Regions from separate parts of the Homo sapiens genome. Here regions 1, 2, 3, 4, 5 and 7 are each linked to region 6. The links are contacts of gene promoters, found by promoter capture Hi-C in blood cells and fetal thymus (Javierre and others, 2016). All regions are on one chromosome and are shown on one strand. The core of a region is centred on a gene start or on the middle of the fragment in contact, and the rest is flanking DNA. Distances in the headings are between cores, read along the strand shown. Region 1 overlaps ZNF585A (zinc finger protein 585A). Region 2 has its middle 4.4 kb from the start of ZNF875. Region 3 overlaps ZNF585B (zinc finger protein 585B). Region 4 overlaps ZNF569 (zinc finger protein 569). Region 5 overlaps ZNF585B (zinc finger protein 585B). Region 6 holds the start of ZNF227 (zinc finger protein 227). Region 7 overlaps ZNF383 (zinc finger protein 383).

Region 1 (3,773 bases), core at 331-2,830, 7.0 Mb before region 6:
TTTAATGGGGAATCAAGACAATGTCATGTTAGGCTAGAATGGAGTTTTGACACCTCACCAAATGATCTTATACAAACAGTTTGTCAGGAAGAAATCTCCTCATTCAAAGACAATAAACATCTCCTGATGTACAAAGATGCTATGAGTAAAAGGATGAAAAAAAAAAGAGAGGAGATTAAGAAGAATACACTAGAAATAAATTGACATACAACAGAAGAAATCATAACCTCCATGAATTCAAGGAATTTACTAAAACAATTAACTGCTTAGGGAAAAACAGATTAAGAATATAGTGATATAAATTTCTGAAAAATAAATTAACAGAACTCAGTAAAAAAGTAAAAAAAAAAAAAGCAACACAAAAATAAAAGTCTCCCTGAAAAAAATGAGAAGACCCTGCAAAAACACAAAAGGTGGCAAAGAGCAGATTAAGGCAAGTGAGCAACATGAGACGGAAATAAAGATATTTTTTAAAGAAAATAAGAGGAGTTTAATAAAAACATCCAATGAACAAAAGAATCCTTGAATTGGCAGTGTAGAACTGTTATCATTATTCACAGTACAAATTTAATAAATACTGTCTTAAAGAGTAGATTCGAATATTTAGTTCAAGAAGTTAACATCATAAAGATGACACACACACACACACACACACAAAAACAAAAAAGAATCCAAACATTCCAAATTACATGGAAGACACACAGAAACAAAGCACAAATATAGAGTATATAGTGAAAGATTTATAAAATAGCCACATCAGAAGCATAACATAAAATGCATCTTTCCACACACACACACAAAAAAGCACAAGAACTCCAAAGGATGACATTAAAAAGATGACCAAAGGCATATCTGGAGTTGCCAACAGAAAAGAAATAAGAGCCTCCTCCTTAATATTAGATAGGGCTGAATTGCAGGGGAAAAAATATTAAACAAGGACACAATGTGAAATGAGTTTCGGATGCCGTATTTACTATCTGTGCACCAAACTACATAACATCAAAATTTATAAACAAAAACTATAGGAAAAAGGCCGGGCGTGGTGGCTCATGCCTATAATCCCAGCACTTTGGGAGGCCGAAGCGGGTGGATCACGAGGTCGGGAGATCGAGACCATCCTGGCTAGTCTCTACCAAAAATACAAAAAATTAGCAGGGCGTGGTGGCGGGCGCCTGTAGTCCCAGCTACTCGGGAGGCTGAGGCAGGAGAATGGCGTGGACCCGGGAGGCGGAGCTTGCAGTGAGCCGAGATTGCACCACTGCACTCCAGCCGGGGCGACACAGCAAGACACTGTCTCAAATTAAAAAAAAAAGAACTATAGGAAAATATAGATAGAAATACATTTGTGGTGGGAAACTTTAATAATATCTCTCAGCAACTTGAGACAAAGTAGAAAAAAATGAGTAATACTATAGAAACCTCATAGCTATATATCTTATTGATAAGCTATCAAATTTTTTTCTTTTCAAGTGCCTATACAACAATCCCAAAACAAAACAAAAAACAAAGAAATACCCGTAATAATCTCTCGAAAAGTAAATTTCTCCAATGCTGCAATCCTAATCTTATTGAAGTTTTTTGCTTTTGTTTTCAAGACAGGGTGTCACTGTCACCTAGGCTGGATGTAGTGGCAATGTCGTGGCTCACTGCAGCCTTGACAGGCTCAAGCCGTCCTCCAATCTCAGCCTCCCAAGTAGCTGGTATCACAGGTGCCCCACCACCACACTCAGTTAATTTTGGTTTTTGTTGTAGAGACAGGGTCTCACTATGTTGTGCAGGCTGGTCTCAAACTCATGGGCTCAAGCAATCCTCCCGCCTCAGTCTCCCAAAGTGCTGGAATTACAAGTGTGAGCCACCACATATGGCCAAAAGTAAAGTTAAAAAATGAAAATCTTAAAACCTAGAAATAAAATGTGGTAAATGGTATTTAAAGATTTGGTGGGGTAGTTAATGTTCTAGAAATTCATCCTTTTCAGCTGGGTGCGGTGGCTCATGCCTGTAATCCCAACACTTTGGGAGGCTGAGGCGGGTGGATCACGAGGTCAAAGTTGAGACCATCCTGGCCAACATGGTGAAACCCCGTGTCTACTAAAAAAATACAAAATAATTAGCTGGGCGTGGTGGCGCACGCCTGTACTCCCAGCTACTCGCTGGGCTGAGGCAGGAGAATTGCTTGAACCCGGGAGGCGGAGGTTGCAGAGCCAAGATCACATCACTACACTCTAGCCTGACTACAGAGCAAGACTATGTCTCAAAAAAAAAAAAAAAGAAATTCATCCTTTTCATTTAGATTTTTTTATTCATTTGCATGAGATAAATTATTTTTCTAAATTATTTTTAGTACAGTTTTGCTATATACCAGAGCTTCTGATATATATATACCATTTTTATTGTTTTTGAGATATTTTACAATTTTAGTTTTGACTTTGGCTTTGGAGTGGGTTGCTGAGAACATAGCAGTTGTTTCACTAATCCCAGTAAAAACCTACTAGGCTATTGTTTTCTTCTACTCTTCAATGCAGTTAGTTAACATATTTGACTTCTGAATCTATCTTCATAATTTCCAGTTCTTTCAGGCATCAAGGTTAACACTGTAAACAAAATAAAACAAAAACCAAAAGCAAGGTTGAGAATAATTTTAAATATTATTCTTTACCCAAAACTTCAGCATAATGACCAACTATAAAAATGCATGACCTTTCCATTATTTTTTACTGTGTTGGAAATGCTGAATCAACATTTTAATTTCTTCAAGGACTTTGAACCATTTAAATTCTTACCAATTATATCTATTTTTTGTAAACTTTTATCCTTTTATTTATACTTTCATATTTTTGGCATGATTTTGTATAATATTCATTCATGATTGTTTGAATCTTAGGTACGGAACTAACTGTTTCTCCTGTTTTGTTACATTCTTTTGTCTTTTTTTCAGTCTTGCTCCGTCGCCCAGGCTGGAATGCAGTGGTATGATCTTGGCTCACTGCAACCTCCGCCTCCCAGGTTCAAGCCATTCTCCTGCCTCAGCCTCCCAAGTACCTGGGATTACAGACCTGCACTGTGGCACCCTGCCAATTTTTGTATTTTTAGTAGAGATGGGGTTTCGCCATGTTGACTAGACTGGTCTTGAACTCTTGGCCTCAAGTGAACCACCCACCTCAGCCTCCCAAAGTGCTGGGATTACAGGTGTGAGCCACCATGCTGCCCAGTCTTTTTTTTTTTTTTTGAGACAGAGTCTCGCTCTCGCTCTGTCCCCCAGGCTGGAGTGCAGTGGCACAATCTCGGCTCACTACAACCTCTGCCTCCTGGGTTCAAGCAATTCTCCTGCCTCAGCCTCCTGAGTAACTGGGACTACAGGTGCGCACCACCACATCCGGCTAATTTTTGTAGTAGAAACAGAGTTCCACCACGTTGGCCAGGATGGTCTTGGTCTCCTGACCTCGTGATCCACCCATCTTGGCCTCCCAAAGTGCTGGGATTACAGGTGTGAGTCACCATGCCCGGCTGCACAGTCTTTGATTATGTAGATATTTACTCCATTTTTTGATTGTCAACACATCAACTTGTCAACACATTTTTTGATTGTCAACACATCAACACAGCAACTTGTGTTTCTGTCAAACTCATACCTTAGGTCTTTTTTTTTTTTAAACGTCCAGGATTCCAAAAAGAAGCAATTAAATCTATAGTTTTTCCCCTCTACCCACAGGATAGCTTTAGCACATAAACTTACTTTATTTATTTATGAGACAGGGTCTCACTGTGTCACGCAG
Region 2 (3,719 bases), core at 647-3,146, 6.9 Mb before region 6:
TGCCCTCATGAATGGATGAAGGTAGGGTGGGTTAGTTATCTTGGGAGGGGGTTCCTGATAAAAGGATGAGGTTGGCTTCCTCCCTTTCTGTCTTTCCCCTTCTCCCTCTCACATGTGGTCACTCTCTTGCCCTTTTACCTTCCAGCATAGGACAACACAGCGAGACCTTCACCAGATGCAGGCCCCTCACTTTCCCAGTGTTCAGAACCATAAACCAAGTGAACCCTTATAAATCACCCAGTCTGTGGTATTCTGTTATAGCAACACAAACAGACTAAGACAGGGACACTCAGTGAGCTCTTCTCTCTACTTGATGGAGCACTCCCTGCGTGGTGCCTTGTATTTGTAGACATGATGCTGTAAATGCTCTTTGAGTGTCTCGAAGGCTTTTATGTTTGAGGAGTTTACAGAGAAGCCCGTACAGGGTTCAGGTCCATTCTGTTGCTTCTTTGCTCCTTAGTTCCTCCCCTAATCTGATGTTAAATTAGATCATAGTGTGGTCCTTGGACCAATAGTATCAGTAGCACCTGAAAATCATGCTGGAAATACAGATTCACAGGCTGCTCCCCAGAATACTGAAGAAGAAACTCTAGGAGTGAGACCCAACAATCTGTGTTTAACAAGTCCCCAGGTGAGTCTGATGCACAAAGAAACGTGAGCTGCTGTATTAGATGGTGTTGAGTTCATGCCACCGAATCACTGACACACACATCTGCTCACTGCTTGCTCTTCGCACAGGCCCCTGGATCCTCCTGGAATCCCTGATCCCTGTTGCTCCCTTGCGGAGTTTTCTAGTCCCTCTTATTTGAAGCATGTCTTTCAGAGCCTCGCACCACCCAGCTTGGGTATCTGGTGAATTCTGTGGTCTGCATGTCCATGTTTTTGACATTCTGGGAAGGGTGGCCCAGGCTGTGATTTGCCATCTACTGCTGCAGGCTATGGATGGTATTCAGAAGGGAGGGGAGATGCTGTGTGCGTGTTCTGAAGGGTTTCCCACTAAATGGAGAGACTGACTCTCTCCATAAGTATTTGATTTTTACTTTATCTCCTCGTTGACTTCACAGTGTAAGTGCAGTTTGTCTCTACTGGGTGATGCATGCAGATAAATGTTTATGTGAACATAAGAAGTCTGCATGTGTGGGTGAACTCTCCACATCATGTCATTTATTGTCCATCATTACGTATCTGTGGTGTCTAGCACATTCCTCTACCTTATTTTCTGTCATTGTACCTACTTCTACCTGAACACGTATTAAATATCTTATTAAAAATACACAAATATTATGTTTCCTCAGTGGTTTTTTCCCCCTCACATTGGGCCCTCCTCTTCAGTGGACTACAGTGTGGTACCTGCAGGTCTCAGGCCTTCTGGGAGGTTCCAGCTTTTCCTGGATGCTCTCTCTCTCTGGCCAGCTCAGGCTGGAGCAGTGGGTGTTGGTGCCATCCTGTGGCTATAGGTGATAAACCAGGTTGTGTTTTGACCCCTAGTCTTGAATCCTGGAGTTCTCACATGCGTGGATTTAAATGCTGTGTCTTTCTAAGGGCAGATTGTGCCCATTTTCCTTCTCTGCCTCTCAAGGGACTGTTTGCTGTGTTTATTGACTTACCATTAAAAAAAATCATATACATTGATGAATTAGATTGTACTCCATAAATTATATATGTTTGAAAAATAAAGAATATTTTTTCAATTTTTTTCTGATTTTTACCTATCTTTTAAATTGTATATATTTATGGGGTACAAAATGATGTTATGATTTTTCCATACAGTGTGGAATGTTTAAGTCAAATTATCCTATCCATTACCTCAAATACTTGACTTTTTTTGGTGATGAGAATGGTGTTTATCACTTTCACTCATCAGCTCCTGATGTCTTCCATGCTAGGGACAGGAAAGGCTCAACACTTGACTTTCCCTCCTGTTTTCTTAGCCACTGTCAACCCTTGAATGTACCCTCCAGGGTTGCCTGTCACCTTTTACACCTAGCCTGATCCTTGTGCACCCACTTTCCTCTCAGGGACTGTCCTTAGGGAGTGACTTTATGCACAGACTTAATGTGCTCTTCCTGCCTCCTTCATCCCCATAAGCCCCCATCTCAGCCCCATCTGATTATTTCCTCCCTCTCTCATTTCCTGTTATTCTGTTGGTTTTCTAACCTGAAGGGTAACTGCTTACTCCTTAGTTTTCTGCCTTAATTTCTAAGTCATAGGCTACTTTCAGGCTAAAAGTTTTCCTCCAGCCATGGTTTTAGTCTCATTCTGTAAGTCTTGGTTTTTAGTTTTATTCATTTAAAATTAATCTTTAATAACTTTTTTGACTCATTGGTGACAGAGTAATTCCCTCTCTTCCCACCACACCACCCTCTGTCCCCAAGATTCTGGAAGTTTGTTCTTCCCCTTTTGTGATCATTGTTACTTAAAACTTTGAGTTTTTCAAATTAGAAGTTTCTTCTATAAATGTATATAGAGCTTGGCTGGGCGTGGTGGCTCACGCCTGTAATCCCAGCGTTTGGGAGGCTGAGGCGGGTGGATCACGAGGTCAGGAGATCGAGACCATCCTGGCTAACATGGTGAAACCCGATCTCTACTAAAAATACAAAAAAATTAGCCAGGCGAGGTGGCAGGCGCCTGTAGTCCCAGCTACTCGGGAGGCTGAGACAGGAGAATGGCGTGAACCTGGGAGGCGGAGCTTGCAGTGAGCCGAGATGGCACCACTGCACTCCAGCCTGGGCGACAGAGTGAGACTCTGTCTCAAAAAAAAAAAAAAAAAAAAGTGTATAGAGCTAATAACTCCTTGCTTTTTTTTTTTTTTTTTTTGAGAGTCTCGCTCTTGTTGCCAAGGCTGGAGTGCAATGGCACAATCTTGGCTCACTGCAACTTCTGCCTCCTGGGTTCAAGTGATTCTCCTGCCTCACCCTCCCAAGTAGCTGGATTACAGGCAGTGGCCACCACGCCCATGTGGGGAAAAGCAAGAGAGATCAGATTGTTACTGTGTCTGTGTAGAAAGAAGTAGACATAGGAGACTCCATTTTGTTATGTACTAAGAAAAATTCTTCTGCCTTGAGATTCTGTTAATCTATAACCTTACCCCCAACCCCGTGCTCTCTGAAACATGTGCTGTGTCAACTCAGAGTTAAATGGATTAAGGGCGGTGCAAGATGTGCTTTGTTAAACAGATGCTTGAAGGCAGCATGCTCCTTAAGAGTCATCACCACTCCCTAATCTCAAGTACCCAGGGACACAAAAACTGCAGAAGGCCGCAGGGACCTCTGCCTAGGAAAGCCAGGTATTGTCCAAGGTTTCTCCCCATGTGATAGTCTGAAAGATGGCCTCGTGGGAAGGGAAAGACCTGACCGTCCCCCAGCCCGACACCCCCAGCCCGACACCCGTAAAGGGTCTGTGCTGAGGAGGATTAGTAAAAGAGGAAGGAATGCCTCTTGCAGTTGAGACAAGAGGAAGGCATCTGTCTCCTGCCCGTCCCTGGGCAATGGAATGTCTCGGTATAAAACCCGATTGTATGCTCCATCTACTGAGATAGGGAAAAACCGCCTTAGGGCTGGAGGTGGGACCTGCGGGCAGCAATACTGCTTTGTAAAGCATTGAGATGTTTATGTGTATGCATATCTAAAAGCACAGCACTTAATCCTTTACATTGTCTATGATGCAAAGACCTTTGTTCACGTGTTTGTCTGCTGACCCTCTCCCCACAATTGTCTTGT
Region 3 (3,383 bases), core at 393-2,892, 7.0 Mb before region 6:
TAATTGTTTTTCTTTTTTTTTTTTTTGAGACAGAGGCTCACTCTGTCACCCAGACTGGAGTGCAGTGGTGCAATCTCAGCTCCCTGCAACCTCTGCCTCCTAGGTTCAAGCGATTCTCCTGCCTCAGCCTCCTGAGTAGCTGGGATTACAGGCGTACGCCACCATGCCTGACAAATATTTTTTATTTTTAGTAGAGACGGGGCGTCACCATGTTGGCTAGGCTGGTCTCGAACTCCTGACCTCAGGCAATCTGCCTGCCTCAGCCTCCCAAAGTGCTGGGATTATAAGTGTGAGCTACCGCACCAGGCCCAAACTAATTTTTAATTTAATTAAATTTTTTTTTTGGTAGTGACAGGGAATCACTACATTGCCAGGGCTGGTCTTGAACTTCTGGCCTCAAGCCATCCTCCCACCCTGGCTTTCCAGTGTTGGGATTACAGGTGTGAACGACCGTGCCCAGCCAACTGCTGCTGCTTTACCAACTGTAACTTTAGCCTCAAGCTATCCTTCCTATCTTCTAGAATAAAATTATTAAGATACTCAATCCTAAAACTGCCCAAGAGCAACTAAAGTAGAGGTTCACTGAGGTGCAGATGAGACTCTCACCACGTGACTAGAACCCTGAAATGAAATTCCACTACTTCTAATATATCCAATAGAAAGAGAAGGCATGACAATATCCACTGCGATATTGTTCATAATAGTTTCTGTATTTTACCAAACAAACATTAAAACAGCAATGTACAAAAAAGTTAATCTGCTATGCCATTCTGAAATCAAGAGAAAAAAATTGTAGTTGTTTTCATTTGTATACAGAACTAAGCAATCAAAGAAAATGAATAAAGCAGGTTATCACTACCGGGAGACACAGGTAGATGGAAGGCAGAGGTGGGTGAACCACAGTCCCATCTCTTTCACCATAATACTTTTCAATATATTGCTTTTCATATATTTCTAACTTTTGAACTAGGTATATGCATTGCCTATTCAAAAGATTAAACTATTCCTAATAAATTATCACAATATCTTCAGATGGATAAGAAATAACAATACACCCAGGCCGGGCATGGTGTCTCACACCTGTAATCCCAGCACTTTGGGAGGCCGAAGCAGGTGGATCACCTGAGGGTCAGGAGTTCGAGACCAGCGTGGCCCAGATGGTGAAACACCATCTCTACTAAAAATACAAAAATTAGCCAGGCGTGGTGGCTCGCACCTGTAATCTCAGCTACTCAGGAGGCTGGGGCAGGAGAATTGCTTGAACCTGGATGGCAGAGGTTGCAGTGAGCGGAGATCATGCCATTGCACTCCAGCCTAGGCAACAAGAGCAAAACTCCATCAATAAATAAATAAATAAATAAATAATTTAAAAAATAACATTACATCCATGAAATAAGAACGGGATGGCAATAAAAAAAAATTTAGGAAACAGGCTGGGAACAGTGGCTCATGCCTGTAATCCCAGCACTTTGGGAGGCTGAGGTGGGCAGATCACCTGAGATCAGGAGTTCGAGATCAGCCTGATCAACACGGAGAAACCCCGTCTCTACTAAAAATACAAAATTAGCCGAACGAGGTGGCACATGCCTGTAGTCCCAGCTATTTGAGAGGCTGAGGCAGGAGAATCTCTTGAACCCAGGAGGCGGAGGTTGCAGTGAGCCGAGATCATGCCATTGTACTCCAGCCTGGGCAATGAGAGCAAAACTCTGTTTCAAAAAAAAAAAAAAAAATTTTAGGAAACAAACTAGAGTTTTTAAAAATTAAAACATTAAGTTAAAATGTGGATAGTGGTAATGAGAAGCTCAATAGAAGGGCTGGAAGGCAAAAGGTGTCAAAGTTACCCAGAATGGATAGCAGGAAATACATAGAAAATAGTAGAGAAAAGAAATGGAGAAGCAACATCTGAAAAACAAGTTTCAGAAAGAAAACAGAGAAAACATTTGTGTTTGAGGAGGTGGTTTAGGAAGAAATGAAAAAATGCTTTCAAAATCTCAAACAAAAGTCACTTCTAACAAGGAATTCTATTTGCAGCCAAAACATCAATATAGCGTGATGACAAAATCAACAACAGTTTTCCTTGACAGTGCACCTCTCCACTGTCACACAGGTGGCCTCCAGAGACGGAGACATTACCCACGTGTTCATTCTTGACAGGAAGATCAAGTTTTCTTTCAGGAGCACCAAGTCTAGAGTCCAGCTGGTTCCTAAGGCCTGTCTGCCTCTGCCCTAAGGCTGTGGTGACAGATTAGAGCTATCTACTCTTGGACTGAAATTCCACCCCTTGGGACTCCTCCTCCTCACCTCATAGGAGCTGCCATGATCCTCTGGAGCCAGGGCTGAGGATTTCTGGGGTGAGGTCCAACTAGCTGGCATGGCCACACTGGATCTCAACCCTTTTTGTCTAGGGTGCCTGAAGTTTAGTGGTCATCTGTGAACTCAGCAGAGCTGCTCCGAAGAGGTGGGCTGGAGTCTGGAGGAAGGTCTGGCCCAGGGACTCCCCAGAGACACCCAAGAACCTAGAAAAACAATGTCCACGTAGTCATTCAACATTCACTACATAAACACTTCCTGGATACACCAAGGTGCAGGTCCCTGCGCTAGAAACCAGAGCAGTGGTTCCCAAACGTAGGTATGCATTCAAGTCACCTGGAGGGCTTGTTAAAACATAGTTTAAAATTCTCAACTTCACCCCTTCGATGGGTCTAAGGTAGGCCCTAAGAATTTTATTTTCTAATAAGTGCCCAGGAAATGCTGATGCTGCTGGTACAAGAACCACACTTTCAGAACTGTGGAGAACAGTGCTGAAATATGGGAAAAGCCATGAAATTTAGAGTAACATTACTGCAGATTTGAACTGCAGCTGTACCACTTTTCAACAATGAGAATATAAAGAAGTTACTCAGATTTTGTTTCAGAAATAAGGATGAAAATGCCTGTGTCACAGTTACTAAGATTAAATGAGATTATGCTTTTAAAGTACTCAATGCCTCCCTGCCATGCAAGAATCACGCAATAAATATCAGCAATTACCATGCACTATATTAAAACGTAATACAGAAAACCATGTCATCAAAACAAGTAAGATAATAAACATATCAGACAATGTTGATCTATATATGAAATAAAAATGATATGCGATTGAGTGTGCACACGGCATTCATTGTATACATATCCCCAATTGGTGCATGCAATTGGCCATGCATCTGGAATAAAACAAACTAGATCTCCACCTCACACAATATTTTTTTCTTTTAAGATGGGGTCTCGCTCTGTGGCCAGGCTGGAGTGCAGTGACACAACCTCATCTCACTGCAACCTCCACCTCCAGAGTTCAAGTGATTCTACTGCCTCAGCCTCCCAAGTAGCTGGGACTACAGGCATGC
Region 4 (3,533 bases), core at 429-2,928, 6.8 Mb before region 6:
TGTAGATCTATTTGTACTTCTGTATCTCATGAGCTTAACCATCTTGTGGCATTTATCACTCTGCCAGTGCACCCACTGATTTATCTAAGTAGGACTGTGAACCACTTATGGCAGGGACTGGTCATATGGTTTGATGTTTCATGGCCCAGCACAACCTATATAAGAAAAGATGTGCAGTAATTTTGTGCAATGAATTTAAAATAACTATGATTAATATTTTGAGTGCTCTATGAGAAAGTTAGAAAAAGAGATGGGTACTGTAAGCAGGGAAATGCGAACTATAAGAAAGAATCAAAAGAAATGCTAGAAATCAAAAACATATTAATAAAAACAAAGAATGCCTTCAATGGACTCATCAACAAACTCAACACAGTAGAGGAAACAATCAGTGAACCTGAAAATAGAAACTTCAAAAGAAACTTCCCAAACTAAAATGCACAGAGGAAAAAGAATGAAAAACAAAAGAGAACATCCAAACCATGGGAGAACATCCAAACCATGGGACAATATCAAAACATGTATCTATTAAACAGACATCTATTTTCCCAATTAGAAAACCAAAAGGAGAAAAAAGAGAACACAGATGAAATATTGTAAGTAATAATGTCCATGAATGTTTCAAATTAGTGACACACACCAAACCATAGGCTGAGGAAGCGCAAAGAACACTAAGCAAGATAAATACCAAAAAAAACCACACGTGTATATCATATTGAAACTGAAAAAACAACAACAAAAAAAAACAAAGAAAAGATAGTCAAGGAACCCAGAGAAAAGTAACACCTTACCTATAAAACAACACTGATAAAAATTACAGCAGACTTCTTGTCAGAAACTATATAAACAAGAAGAAAGTGGTGTGAAATATCTAAAGCATTAAATGAAAAAGAGCCACCAACCTAGAATTCTCTCTATCCAGGGAAATTATCCTTCAAAGTTGAAGGAGAAATGAAGACTTTCATTTCTAACAAAAACTAAGGGAATTCATCACCAGCAGACCTACCCTGTAAGAAATGTTAAAAAGTTATTTAGGCAGAAGAAAAACAATATAGGTCAGAAACATGGATTTACATAAAGAAAGGAAGAGCACCAGAGACAAAATCATGAAGGTAAGATAAAATCTTTTGGTTCTTTTATTAGTAATTGATCTAAAAGATAAATGTTTGTTAAAGGCTATAATGATAACAATGTATTAGGTGATTACAGCACACGGATAAGTGAAATGAATGACAGGGACATCACAAGTGACATAACAACGGAGAAGAAGGGGGAACTGGGAATACTGTTGTAAAGTTCCTGCACTACATATGAAGCAGTATAGCATTTTCAAAAGTGAATTTAGATTACTTAAAAATACACATTGAAAACTCTAGGGTGACACTAAAATTTTTTAAAAGAAGTATAAATGATAAAGTAAACAGGAGATAAAATGAAATAATATAAAATGCTCAATGAAAACCGTAGTAATCAGACAAAGGAGGGGAGAAGAGAAGAAACAAAACAAAGAAATAAAAAAATTTTCTATTTGCATACGAAGCAAATGGAAAACAGCTAGGAAGATGGTAGTGAGCTAGGAAGATGGTAGTGTTTTTTTGTTTGTTTGTTTGTTTTTGAGACAGAGTTTCACTGGAGACTCCAGCCCAGGCTGGAGTGCAGTGGAACGATCTTGGCTGACTGCAATCTCTGTCTCCTGGGTTCAAGCAATTCTCCTGCCTCAGCCTCAACTGGGATTACAGGCATGCACCACTATGCCTGGCTAATTTTTGTATTTTTAGTAGAGACAGGGTTTCACCATGTTGGCCAGGTTGGTCCTAAACTCCTGACCTCAGGTGATTCGCCTGCCTTGGCCTCCCAAAGTGCTGGGATTACACGCATGAGCCACCACGCCTGGCCAATGGTAGATGTTAATCCAACTACAAAAATAATCACACCAAGTGTAAATGGTCCAAACACAGCAATTAGAAGACAGATTGTCAGAGTGCATTTAAAAAAAAAAAAACAACTATATATGTCTATAAGAAACCCACTTTAACATTCAAGTTACAAGTAAAGAGATGAAGCTAGGCGTGGTAGCGTGCACCTGTAGTCCAAGCTATTTGCAGGGGCTGAGGCAGAAGTTTGCTTGAACATAGGAGTTCAAAGCTGCAGTGTGCCATGACTGCATCTGTGAATAGTCACTGCACTCTAGCCTGGGCAATACAGTGATACCCTGTCTCAAAAAAAAAAAAAAGTCAAGGGATGAGACTGGTGGCCTATCCTTCCCTAGAAATGAAAAAAACAAACAAAAGGCAAAACCTGTCTGAACCAGATTTTCAGAAATTCTGGGAGATAGTCAAAGGTTGCACCCAAGCAAACACTTAACAAAAAAATTTGAGCTTCAAAAAGAAAATAAGTGCAGTGATTTAAAACACATCAAATATGCTAAAAATGATGAATATATAATGGTGATAATAATAAAAACAACCCACTAGGAGATGCCAGGGAACCACTCCAATAACTCAAAATCATATAAAGGGAAATAATCCATTTATTCTGCCTTTTCTGTACAAACTGTACCTAAGGGTGAACAAAGAGTTGACGAGGAAAATTTTTTCTTTAGGAAAATATTCTAGCTAGTAAACGAAGTAATGACAGAATTAGAATATCGCCATTTTGTAGCCCTTACTGAAATAATGGGTCTAGTTAGTAATCATCCATGTTTTCTAAAACCGGTATAGTGGTAAGAAGAACTGTTCTATTTTTAAAACATATGAAAAATATCCTCTTTTTTTTTTTTTTTTTGACAGAGTCTCACTCTGTCAGGCTGGAGTACAATGGCGTGATCTTGGCTCACTGCAACTTCCGCCTCCTGGGTTCAAGCGATTCTCCTGCCTCAGGCTCCAGAGTAGCTGGGACTACAGGTGTGCGCCATCATGCCCAGCGAATTTTTGTATTTTTAGTAGAGACAGGGTTTCACCATGTTGGTCAGGATGGTCTTGATCTCTTGATCTCGCAATGTGCCCACTATGGCCTCCCAAAGTGCTGGGATTACAGGCATGAGCCACCATGCCCAGCCCATCCTTCTATGTCTCACCTTACTTCCTCTAATATTACAACCCAATAGTCCTTCAGCCCTGTCAGGAGCTTCCATTCCTTGATTCTACTAATTTTTTACTGTCCTTCACTCTCTTCCTATCCTCACTTTTCCACTTACCTAGCCTAAAATCCACAGTCAAAACAACAATCAATTATTTTGCCAACTTAAGACTCTTCTTGCCTCTCTCTCACATTATTCCTCTTTGCTTCATGAAACCAACATTCTGGTTAAATCCAAATCTCCCCCTAGCCTGTCTGGCTGCAACTATGCGGATGAACACTGCAGGAGAAAAATCACACAGCTACACAGAATAGGCTCACTTTAAATTCATAAATACTAACATTAAGTGGGTCTTTGATGGTGCCTGAAAATCATAATTTCTCTATTCTCTGTCCCAATCTCTGTGATTTTTTTTCCCCTGTTCTTCTCAAACTCTAGCACGTCCTCCACCAATCTC
Region 5 (3,641 bases), core at 1,080-3,579, 7.0 Mb before region 6:
AAGTGGTATGATATGGGGAGTGGGGAGTAGAGCAGGATAGGGTGGGGTAGGATATAACATAGATAAGAGTCACATGGGCACAGTAGCCTCACTGAAGCTGAGGGTGGAGGGCTCAATTCATTCTGACATTAGGGCAAGTGTGCATGACAACCATGGCTTTAACCTGACTTTGGTCACGGGGTCATCTTCTGCCACACCGCATCACGTTCATTTTCCAATTAAGTGCCTGAGACCCAGAACCCTCAGCCCTGCCACATTCCTCTTGTTCCCTAGGTTCCATATTTGCTGGTGGCTGCTCCAGTGAATGGGGTGGAGCATATGGCACTGATGATGGGGAACGGGATTGAAAGTACTAGGGTGGATGCCAATGGTAATAGACCTCTGCCACTGGGTCCCTTACGACTGTCCTCCACCGACATGGTATGCCACTGTGACCAAGAGGAGGCTGAGTTGGGAGACCTTGTGGAATGCCAGGGAAGGATGTAGGTAGGATACTTGGGAGGAGGGTAGCAGGGTGGTTGGGCACCACCCGCACATGGAATTAGGGCTGGGATATGCTGAAGCATGGGGTGGGGCATTAGATTTTGAATTAGAGGACCTGGAACCAACCCTACCACCTCCCACGCATTTAGCCAATGTGTGTGGGGCATTTGGTCAATGTCAATACTATTGTTATTATTCATCCGTTCATTCGTTTGTTCATTCATTAACACATTTAACAAGCTTGTACTGAATGTCTGCTTTGTGCTGGCACCATGTTGGGTGCCTTGGACACAGCAGAAACAAGACAGACCAAGTCCAGGTCTCATGAGGTCTAGTGGAAAGGTTGGATGAAAAACCAAAAAAAAAGAAATATTTAATATCAAATCAGATGGTGATGCCTGCAACACAAATATATACAAAATAATACAGCAGAAAGTGACCCCAATGGATGTGTTACTTCAGATACAAATGGTGGGGTGGATGCTTTTCAAAGATGGGGGAAGAAAGCAAGATGCATGGGCACTGGGGAAGCAGTGTATGCCCAGAGAACACAGTTGGTGCAAAAGCCCAAAGCTGGAGAAAGCTTCCTTGGTGCTAAATCAGCCAGAATTGGGATTCTTGACAAACAATAAAAATATTGACCACCTCCAACTGCAGGCTGTCTGAACCCTATGACCCGTTATTATAGTTATAACTTTATACTATAAACATTAAATGTGATTATGTAAAAGTAGAAATAACTAAAATGTTACATGAAAGTTTGATATATAAAATATAAAAATTATATAATCATACGATACTATATATTATATAAAATGGAAACTATTTTGTAGTAGGTATAATATCATAATGTGCTATAACATACTGTCAACACAATATACAGTGTATGATATGCACACATAAAATAAAATACATAAATCTATATTTATAATCTAGTATCTAATAATTTTTCAAATGTCATTTAAACTATCACATAGTAAAATAAAAGAGTACTTCTGAGATTCATCCATGTTGCAGCCAGTGTCAATAAATCACTTCTTTTCATGTTGGGGTAGTATTCTATTGTATAGATGTTTAATTAGTCACCCACTGTTTAATTAGTCACCCACTGTTACATTTGGGTTGTTTCCTAATTTTGGCAATTATACAGTTGCTGTGAAATTTGAGTACCCGTGTTTTTATATAAACAATTTTTCACTTATCTAGGGCAAATACCTAGGAGAGGGATTGGTGGGTCATATGATAAGTGTATGTTTAACAGTATAAGAAGCTGTCAAGGCTGGGCATGGTGGCTCACGCCTGTAATCCCAGCATTTTGGGAGGCTGAGGCGGGCAGATCACCTGAGACCAGGAGTTCGAGACCAGCCTGACCAACATGGAGAGACCCTTAACTAAACCTCTACTAAAAACATATAAAATTAGCCAGGCGTGGTGGTGCATGCCTGTAATCCCAGCTACTTGGGCGGCTGATGCACGAGAAACGCTTGAACCTGGGAGGTGGAGGTTGTGGGGAGCCGAGATCATGCCATTGCACTTCAGCCTGAGCAATAAGAGCAAAACTTCATCTCAAAAAAAAAAAAAAAAGCTGCCAAACTTTTTGCCCAAAGTGAATGTAACATTTTACATTTCTACCAACAATGCATGAAAGTTTCCATTGCTCTGCATTGTTGCCAACTCTCAGCATTATGTCTTTATTTTTAGGCATGCTAAAAGGTGTGTACAGGTATCTCATTGTGGTTTTCATTTTCATTTTCTTGAAAATTAAAGATGTCGAGCATCTTTTCATCACCTTATTTTCCATTTTTATCTCATATAACAATATGGATAGATCGCAAATACATCACATTAAATGAAACAAGTCCGACTCAAAAAGAGAGATACATACACATATATAAACAGACAGAGACACACACAGGATGTCTCCATTTATACAACATGTGGAAAAGGCAAAATTATACAGACAGAAAATGGGCTTGTGATCATCAAGGCCTGGGGGTGGGCAAAGGGATGGACTAAAAAGTAATAGGAGGAAATGTAGGGAAGTGAGGGAACTGTTCTCTGTCTTGACTGTGGTATTGACTGCATGATGTAATTGTCAAAACTTTGAGAATTCCACACTAAAAAGGGTGAATATTACTGTATGTAAATTATACCTCAATAAATACGACCTTAAAATATTACAGTCATGTTCACACAAAAACCTGCACACAGGTGTTTATAGCATCTTTATTCATAATCAACAAAACTTGGAAGCAATTAAGGTGTCCTTCAGTAGGTGAATGGATAAATAAGTCATGGTACTTCCAGACAATAGCATATTATTCAATGAGAAAAAAAAAAAAAAAAGAGCTAGCAAGCTACGAAAAGACATGGAAGAAACTTAAATCCACATTACTAAGTGAAACAAATCAATCTGAAAAGGCTGCATACTTTATGGTTCAGAGGCAAAATTATGGAGACAAAAGAAAATAGCCAGGAGTTTAGAGGAGTAGGCGAAACACAGAGGATTATTGGGACAGTGAAACGGCTCTTTATCCTTCTGTAATAATGCATACATGTCATTATTCATTTGTCTCAACCCACAGAATGCACATCAAGACTGAACCCTAATTAAACCATGGACTTTGGCCGATAGTGTCAATGTAGTTTCATCAATTGTAACAAATGTACCACTCTGAAGGGGGATGTTGATGATGGGGGAGGCTGTGTATATGTGAGGGTAGGGGATATATGGGAAATCTCTGTACCTTCTGCCCCATTTTGCTGTGAACCTAAAATTTCTCTAAAAACTAGTCTTTTATATAAATGGGCATACATATACATATATATGTCAGCACTAAAATATCACGTTACAATAAATATAAAGGAGAAATTATTGAAAGTCATGTACAGTGAAATGTGTTTTCCTCCATATTTCCTGGAATTCATGAGGAGTGATACACTTAGGAGTAAGGTAAAATGGGAATAATGAAGGGGACCAGACCTTGTTCTAGGGTATGTTAGGAAGGAAGAGGTGATCTCCAGGCACCCTCCTGAGAGTCAGCTGACATTGTCCTAAGTTGGGGATAATGTTGTATCACAAAATATCCAAAACTGAAGGAAGAATAGTGAAGCTTCAGATACAGTGCTGGATGAGGTGAAGGGAGGTAATGGGTGAG
Region 6 (3,478 bases), core at 607-3,106:
ACTATGGCTGGACATGTAGAGTGGAAAGTGGATTCCAAGAGAGAAACAGCATCTGGAAAATTCCTGTTTGTGCGACTTGTTAAAGCATTTGAACCTTCTCTTAAGGGCACTGGATAGACATGCAGGTGAAAATAATCAAATTTCCATCTTAGGAGATATACTTAACCTCTCTCTGCCTCTGGATCCCAAAGAGTAAACTAGAGGACATTATTTGTTTTAAAAAAGTTGTGAAAATGGGCTAAGTGTGGTGGCTCATGCCTGTAATCCTAGCACTTTGGGAGGCCGGGGCGGGTGGATCACCTGAGGTCAGGAATTCAAGACTAGCCTGGCCAAGATGGCAAAACCCCGTCTCTACTAAAAATACAAAAATTAGCTGGGCGTGGTGGGGAGGGGGGTGCCTATAACCCCAGCGACTTGGGAGGCTGAGGCAGGAGACTTGCTTGAACCTTGTGTGAGGGCGGAGGTTGCAATGAGCCGAGGTCATGCCACTTCACTCCAGCCTGGGCAAAAGAGCCAAACTCTGTCTAACAACAACAACAACAACAACAACAACAAAACAGAACAAAAAAAAAAAGAAAAAAGTTGTGAAAATGTAGTGAGGGTCCCATAGTCTGAATAGTTTGAACTAGTTCCTGGCACATACTTGGTTCTTTATAAGAGATAGTTGTATATAACAGAATAAAGAATATATATTTAGTAAATGAGAACTGCAAACATGTACTGTAGTAGATATGTGGATATTTTTAGGTATTGCTCTCTTCTTTCAACCCTCAATTCTTGGAAACATCAATTCCATTATACATTTAAGCAAATAAAGATCAAGGTTTAAACACTGAAGTAATAAATTTGTTCATCTTTCAAATTCAGAAACTCCTTGAGGAATGATTACAGAGGCCCTAGTTGCTTTGTGGAGTTGATCTACCATATGCCAAAGCTTGTGTTTTCTATGTCTAGCTATCCTCAGTAAGCAAGTTGTTCTGAATTATATGACTGTGCTATTAAGAAAAGTGGAAATCCATAATATATTCTGCCTTCGTTGCATTTTTTGATTGCTCTTTCATTCTTTTAGTATCTAAAGAGTAGTTTTTCTATTAGTCGATCCTGTTAAATGTAAAAACTTAAAGGGTTTCCTCTGCCCTTTTTTTTTTTTTTTTTGGAAGTGGTGGGTATAATTCTATTAGTACAGGATCACGTGATCTGTTTCTTATAATAGTTTTTTTTTTCTTTTTTTTTTTTTTGAGACAGAGTCTCACTCTGTCGCCCAGGCTGGAGTGCAGTGGCACGATCTTGGCTCACTGCACCCTCCAGGGTTCAAGCGATTCTTATGCCTCAGCCTCCCAAGTAGCTGGGACTACAGGCGCGCGCCACCACGCCCGGCTAATTTTTATATTTTTAGTAGAGACGGGGCTTCATCATATTGGCCAAGCTGGTCTGGAACTCCTGACCTCGTGATCCGCCCGCCTCGGCCTCCCAAAGTGCTGGGAGTCTTTTTTTATTTTAGGGCTCCAATTCTTCACATATTTGCTGTTACTTTTTGTTAATAAGAAAAACCTAAATTCCACTGACATCAGAGAACTGCTTCAGCCTGGCTAAACAGCAATAAGCCGTGAAGAGGATTCTGGATGTTGTAGTCCGGGAGCTCCGAGAATTTTGTCACACTCTCCGTAACCCTCTCTCACTCGCTCGCTCCGTTTTTTTTTTTGTTTTTTTTTTTTTCAAGCGCGAAGAGGGCGGCACCTGGATGGTTTTTCCTTCTGGAAGTTCTGGGAAACGTATTCCAGAACTCTGTCCGGAAACAATTGGGCCGCAGGAGCGCGGGCCTTCTGGGAAGGGTAGTTCAGGAGCTCTGGGCAGGCAGAGCCACTTCCGCCCCGGAAAGCGAGGCCGCCACCATCTTTTGGGTCCGGGAGGTGAGTCAGCCCTGCACCCCCACGACCCCTCTTGAACCTTTTCAGCCTGTGCTTGGGAATAGGCGCTCCCCAGCCATCAGTCTTGGGATGGAGAGGTCGCGGCCGCGGCGGAGGCCGAGAGGCCGAGGGCGGGAAGTTTGCTCTCCTCCCGCACTTGGCAAGCAGCGCCGCTAGTTCTGTGGGTATAATAAACAGCGAGTTACCTATGATCCGCGCTCCTGTTTCCTCATCTTTAAAATAGCAATAAAGATAGTCGTTACTGTGTAGGGTTGTAATTAGAATTAAACAAGATAATACGGGTCAAACCTTAGAACAGTGGTGGCACCTGATACTGGGTTGGCTCCTGCTATTGATACAGTGATTCCCTCACAAGCGCCCTTTTTACTGGAAGCTCCAGTGAAGAGAGAAGAAAAGTCAGGGCTTTATGCCATGGCCTTTCTGTCGTATCCTTCAGGAGACCGAGCTCTTCCCGAACTTTTACAGATCTTTTTTTTTTTTAAGAAGGATTGAGTCATCGGGCTCCAATGCGTGGGGATGTTTACCGCCGTTTATCCGGGATAGAGACTCCATCGTGCTGACAGCATCCTTTTATTCACCGCCTCCGAATTTGCAAAGAGGAGGAAGGAGGGACTTCTTGGCTTCTCCCAGCATAGCCCCAGGTACCTGCTCTTGAACGCACTTTGTTGTTCCATTTTCTGTCCTTTCAGTTAATCAAGTTTCCGTCACTCAGTAAGTTACTACTGAAAAATGATGAAATATTTGTTGAATAAATGTGAGAGTGGGTAGGAAAACTACTTGGAAATGAGTATTACCAATAACATCTTACCACTTTGATTTTAAGGCATTCGTCTGTGGACCATAGCTATTGATGAAGTAGGTCTTGTTATTTTGTTATGAGGAAATTAGGCAGAGTTTATGTTATTAAATACTTTCCCGAAGTTATTCAACTGATAGTAAGAGGTGGATTTGGGATTGAACCCAAGCATTCCTTTTCAGACTGTGTGATCTTTTTTGTTTGTTTTTGTTTCTTTGGTTTTTGTTGTTGTTTATTTTCTATTCCTTTTTCTGAGTCTGTGGTCTTAATCTCAATGATACAGTCGTCTTCAGTTATCTTAAATAGTAATCCATATGGCTACCGGTGAGTCGTTGGAAATCAGCCTTGGGAATGTAGGTATGGATTTTACTGTGGAAGACCTCAAAAACTGCACTGATGAATTTTGAATTTTTTAGAAAAATCCTGCAACATCTCACTTACTTAATTTCATTCCATGTCAAAATATGTCATATTCTAGTTATAGAAGTAATGAATGCTCATTATAGAGATGCACTATCCAATCCAGTAGCTATAAGCCATGTGTGCCCTAGGAGCACTTGAAATGTGTCTAGTCCAAATTGAGATGTGCTGTAAGTGTTAAATACACACTGGATTTCAAAAACTTTGTACAAAAAATGTAAGATGGCTCATTGATAATTTTTTGTATTATATGTCAAAATGGTAATATTTTGGATACATTGGCTTAAATTATGTTGTTGAAATTAACTTCACCTATTTTTGTTTTTGTTTTTTT
Region 7 (3,460 bases), core at 7-2,506, 7.0 Mb before region 6:
GCGGCCGCCTATAGTCCCAGCTACTTGGGAAGCTGAGGCGGGAGAATTGTGTGAACCCGGGAGGTGGAGCTTGCAATGAGCCAAGATTGTGCCACCGCACTCCAGCCTGGCCGACAGAGCGAGACTCTGTCTCAAAAAAAAAAAAAAAAAAGAAAAAGCATATTCCTTTGACCAGATCTCAAATCTGATAAGGAAATAAAACATAACTGGCATTACAGAAGCCCAAGTCTTGTCCAGTTCACTCACTACCCACTTCTCCTAAAGAGAACTAATAGTTTGTCTTCTATAGCCATAGACTAATTTTACCTATACTTGAATTTTGCTTGGCTTCTTTTTTTTTCACTTTTTTTTTCCTACTGTCAGTTTCACTTGGAGATGATGCTTGGCTTCTTTTGCTCAATATTGTATTTCGTATGTAATATGAATGTATTCTGTAATAATATGTAGTATAAATATATAAAATTCATCCATGTTGCTGCACGTTAGTTATAGGTGATATAATGAATATAGTGAACACATTATTATTGCTGTTTAAAATTCTGTTGTATGAATATAACACTTTTTTTTGTTTTTGAGACAGTTTCGCTCTTGTTGCCCAAGGTGGAGTACAATGGCACCATCTCTGCTCACCACAACCTCCACCTCCTGGGTTCAAGCGATTCTCCTGCCTCAGCCTCTCAAGTAGCTGAGATTACAGGCGCACGCCACCACACCCAGCTAATTTTTTGTATTTTTAATACAAACGGGGTTTCACCATGTTAGCCAGGCTGGTCTCAAACTCCTGACCTCAGGTGATCCGCCCGCCTCGGCCTCCCAAAGTGGTGGGATTACAGGTGTGAGCCACCGTGCCCGGCCGAATATAACACATTTTACTTATCCATTCCATTACTGATTGGCATTTGATTTCATATTGAGGCTGTTATGAAAAACGCTGCCGGGAACATTCTTTTACATGTCTTTTGGTGCACATATGAATGCATTTGTCTTGGGTGTATTTCTAGGAGTGAAATTGCTGGGTCATGGTTTCTGTATATGTTCAGCTCTAATAGATACTGACAGTTTTCTGAAATAGTGGTATCAATCTATATTCCAAACTGCAGTGTAGACTTTATGACAAGAATAGATTTTACAACAAGAAGCTTTACTAGAGATAAAGAGGAATAGTTTATAATAAAAAGATCAATTCACCAGTAAGATATAACAGTTCTGAATTTATATGCCTTCATAAAATGGCTTCAAATATATTTGACATAACTAAAAGAAGTAGTAGATAAATCACAATCTTAGTGGGGAGTTTTTAGCACTCTTCTCAATAGCTGACAGAACAAGTGACAAACCCAATAAAGCTATATGGTATTTGAACAGTGTGATTGACAAGCTTGACCTGATTGATATGTATAGAACAGTGTACCTTACAACTACATAATATACTTGCTTTTCAAATGCATATGAGACATTTATCCAAATTGATCATATGCTGGGCCACAAAGGGAGTCTCAATAAATTTCAAAGGAATGAAATAATACTGTAACTTTCCTGACCACAGTAGGTTAAGCTAGAAGTCAATAACAAGAAGATAATTGGAAATATCCCAGCCAGGTGTGGTGACTCATGCCTGTAATCCCAGCACTTTAGGAAACCGAGGCAGGAGGATTGCTTGAACCCAGAAGTTTTAGGCCACCCTGGGCAATATAGCAAGACCCCATTTCTAAATTTAAAAAAACAAAAATTAAAGAAATATCCCAATGTTTGGGATTTAAGCAATGTATTTATAAATAACTGGTGACTCAAAGAATAAATTGTGATAGATATTTAAAATATTTTAAACTGAGTGATAATGAAAAATAACATACCAAAATTATGTTTCTAAAGCTGAATATGAGGAAAATATATAGCTGTAAATGCATATGTTAGAAAAAAATGAATGTTGGCCGGGCGCAGTGGCTCACACCTGTAATCCCAGCACTTTGGGAGGCCCAGGCTGGTGGATCACGAGGTCAGGAGTTCAAGACTAGCCTGGCCAAGATGGTGAAACCCCATCTCTACTAAAAATACAAAAAAAAGTAGCCAGGTATGGTGGCGGGCACCTGTAATCTCAGCTACTCAGGAGGCTGAGGCAGAGAGTTGCTTGAACCTGGGAGGCAGAGGTTGCAGTGAGCCAAGATCGCGCCACTGCACTCCAGCCTGGGCGGCAGAGTGAGGCTCCATCTCAGAAAAAAAAAAGAAAAAAATTAATGTTGAAAAATTAATGATCTATGTATTCATCTCAAGAAGCTAAGGAAAAGTCTAGAAAGTTAAACCCCCAAAATTAAAATCTAGGAAATAATAAGAATAAAAGCCCAAATATAAAATTTTTAGTTTATTTGGTATTGCATATATTTAAGGTGTACGTGTTTTGCTGTACATAACGAACATATATTGAAATACAAAATGAATGTACAGTGAAGAAAACTAACAAAGGCAAAAGCTTATTTTTGGGAATTAATAAAATTAATAAATCTCTAACAAAACTTAAAATATGAAGTAACACAAAAATTGCCAATATCTGATAAGAGGAAAATTAAACCAACCACAGACTTAACTTAAAGGCTGAGGGCTCAATTAATTAATTAGTGTTTGGTACCTGGGACTTGGTTCCACAAAATAAGCTCATTGGAATCTGAGCCACTGATCATTATACTGGGTCCCTTTTTATACTTCATTGAACATGTAGATTTTTCTGGTTTTTTGTTTTTTTCTTTTTTTGAGAGACGGGCCTCTCACTCTGTCACCCAGGCTGGAGTGCAGTGGTGCAGTCACAGCTCACTGCAAACTCGACCTTCCAGGCTCAGGTGATTGTCCCATCACAGCCTCCCGGGTAGCTGGGACTACAGACAATGTGCCACCATGCCCAGCTAGCTTTTTTTTTTTTTTCAATGATTTTGTTTTCATTTTAATTGTGGTATAAAAGACAATGTAAAATTTACCATCTTAATCTTTGTTTTTTTTTTTTTAGACGGAGTCTCACTCTGTTGCCCAAGCTGGAGTGCAGTGGCATGATCTCAGCTCACTGCAGCCTCTGCTTTCCGGGTTCAAGCGATTCTCTTGCCTCAGCCTCCTGAGTAGCTGGGATTACAGGTGGGTGCCACCATGCCTGGCTAATTTTTGTGTTTTTAGTAGAGACGGGGTTTCACCATATTGGTGAGGCTGGTCTTGAACTCTTGACCTCGTGATCACCTGCCTTGGCCTCCCAAAGTGGTGGGATTACAGGCATGAGCCACTACGCCTGGCCATCTTAATAATTTTTTTTTTGAGATGAGTTTTGATCTTGTTGCCCAGGCTGAAGTGCAATGGTGCGATCTTGGCTCACTGCAACCTCTGCCTCCCAGGTTCAAGTGATCTCCTGCCTCAGCCTCCCGAGTAGCTGGGAATACAGGCATGTGCCACCAAGCCCAGGTAATTTTGTATTTTTAGTAGAGAC

Evidence for each region. Contacts are between HindIII fragments. The CHiCAGO score rates a contact against its expected background, and 5 or more counts as called.
Region 1: a fragment that was not itself captured here is called in contact with the fragment with the promoter of ZNF227 in region 6 in 2 of 17 cell types (total CD4 T cells and non-activated CD4 T cells); the score reaches 7.3 in total CD4 T cells.
Region 2: a fragment that was not itself captured here is called in contact with the fragment with the promoter of ZNF227 in region 6 in 1 of 17 cell types (non-activated CD4 T cells); the score reaches 6.4 in non-activated CD4 T cells.
Region 3: a fragment that was not itself captured here is called in contact with the fragment with the promoter of ZNF227 in region 6 in 3 of 17 cell types (total CD4 T cells, total B cells and total CD8 T cells); the score reaches 12.8 in total CD4 T cells.
Region 4: a fragment that was not itself captured here is called in contact with the fragment with the promoter of ZNF227 in region 6 in 2 of 17 cell types (non-activated CD4 T cells and total CD4 T cells); the score reaches 12.6 in non-activated CD4 T cells.
Region 5: a contact is called between a fragment that was not itself captured here and the fragment with the promoter of ZNF227 in region 6, in 2 of 17 cell types (total CD4 T cells and total B cells). The highest score is 9.8, in total CD4 T cells.
Region 7: a fragment that was not itself captured here is called in contact with the fragment with the promoter of ZNF227 in region 6 in 8 of 17 cell types (activated CD4 T cells, total B cells, total CD4 T cells and 5 more); the score reaches 14.1 in activated CD4 T cells.

Annotation. Positions count from the first base shown.
Region 1 is chr19:37,163,106-37,166,878 of GRCh38, forward strand. All of the region lies in intron 2 of ZNF585A (zinc finger protein 585A), which reads right to left. Among named protein-coding and RNA genes, the nearest start is that of ZNF585A, 7.7 kb to the right of the region's middle. The HindIII fragment of the contact is 9,329 bases long and covers 1-3,773 here.
Region 2 is chr19:37,328,434-37,332,152 of GRCh38, forward strand. It overlaps a transcript of ZNF875 not described here. Among named protein-coding and RNA genes, the nearest start is that of ZNF875, 4.4 kb to the right of the region's middle. The HindIII fragment of the contact is 7,336 bases long and covers 1-3,719 here.
Region 3 is chr19:37,204,739-37,208,121 of GRCh38, forward strand. It overlaps ZNF585B (zinc finger protein 585B), which reads right to left. Exons shown (of 5, transcript NM_152279.4): 2 at 2,302-2,516. The coding sequence starts at 2,373. Among named protein-coding and RNA genes, the nearest start is that of ZNF585B, 4.1 kb to the right of the region's middle. The HindIII fragment of the contact is 4,710 bases long and covers 1-3,383 here.
Region 4 is chr19:37,458,550-37,462,082 of GRCh38, forward strand. All of the region lies in intron 2 of ZNF569 (zinc finger protein 569), which reads right to left. Among named protein-coding and RNA genes, the nearest start is that of ZNF569, 7.1 kb to the right of the region's middle. The HindIII fragment of the contact is 7,320 bases long and covers 1-3,533 here.
Region 5 is chr19:37,178,884-37,182,524 of GRCh38, forward strand. It overlaps ZNF585B (zinc finger protein 585B), which reads right to left. Exons shown (of 5, transcript NM_152279.4): 5 at 2,696-3,641. Among named protein-coding and RNA genes, the nearest start is that of ZNF585A, 8.0 kb to the left of the region's middle. The HindIII fragment of the contact is 2,530 bases long and covers 1,065-3,594 here.
Region 6 is chr19:44,210,676-44,214,153 of GRCh38, forward strand. It overlaps ZNF227 (zinc finger protein 227), which reads left to right and starts at 1,857. Exons shown (of 6, transcript NM_182490.3): 1 at 1,857-1,910; 2 at 2,415-2,569. The HindIII fragment of the contact is 5,683 bases long and covers 933-3,478 here.
Region 7 is chr19:37,221,823-37,225,282 of GRCh38, forward strand. ZNF383 (zinc finger protein 383) reads left to right here. Exons shown (of 6, transcript NM_001387601.1): 2 at 2,996-3,117. Among named protein-coding and RNA genes, the nearest start is that of ZNF383, 5.3 kb to the left of the region's middle. The HindIII fragment of the contact is 239 bases long and covers 1,138-1,376 here.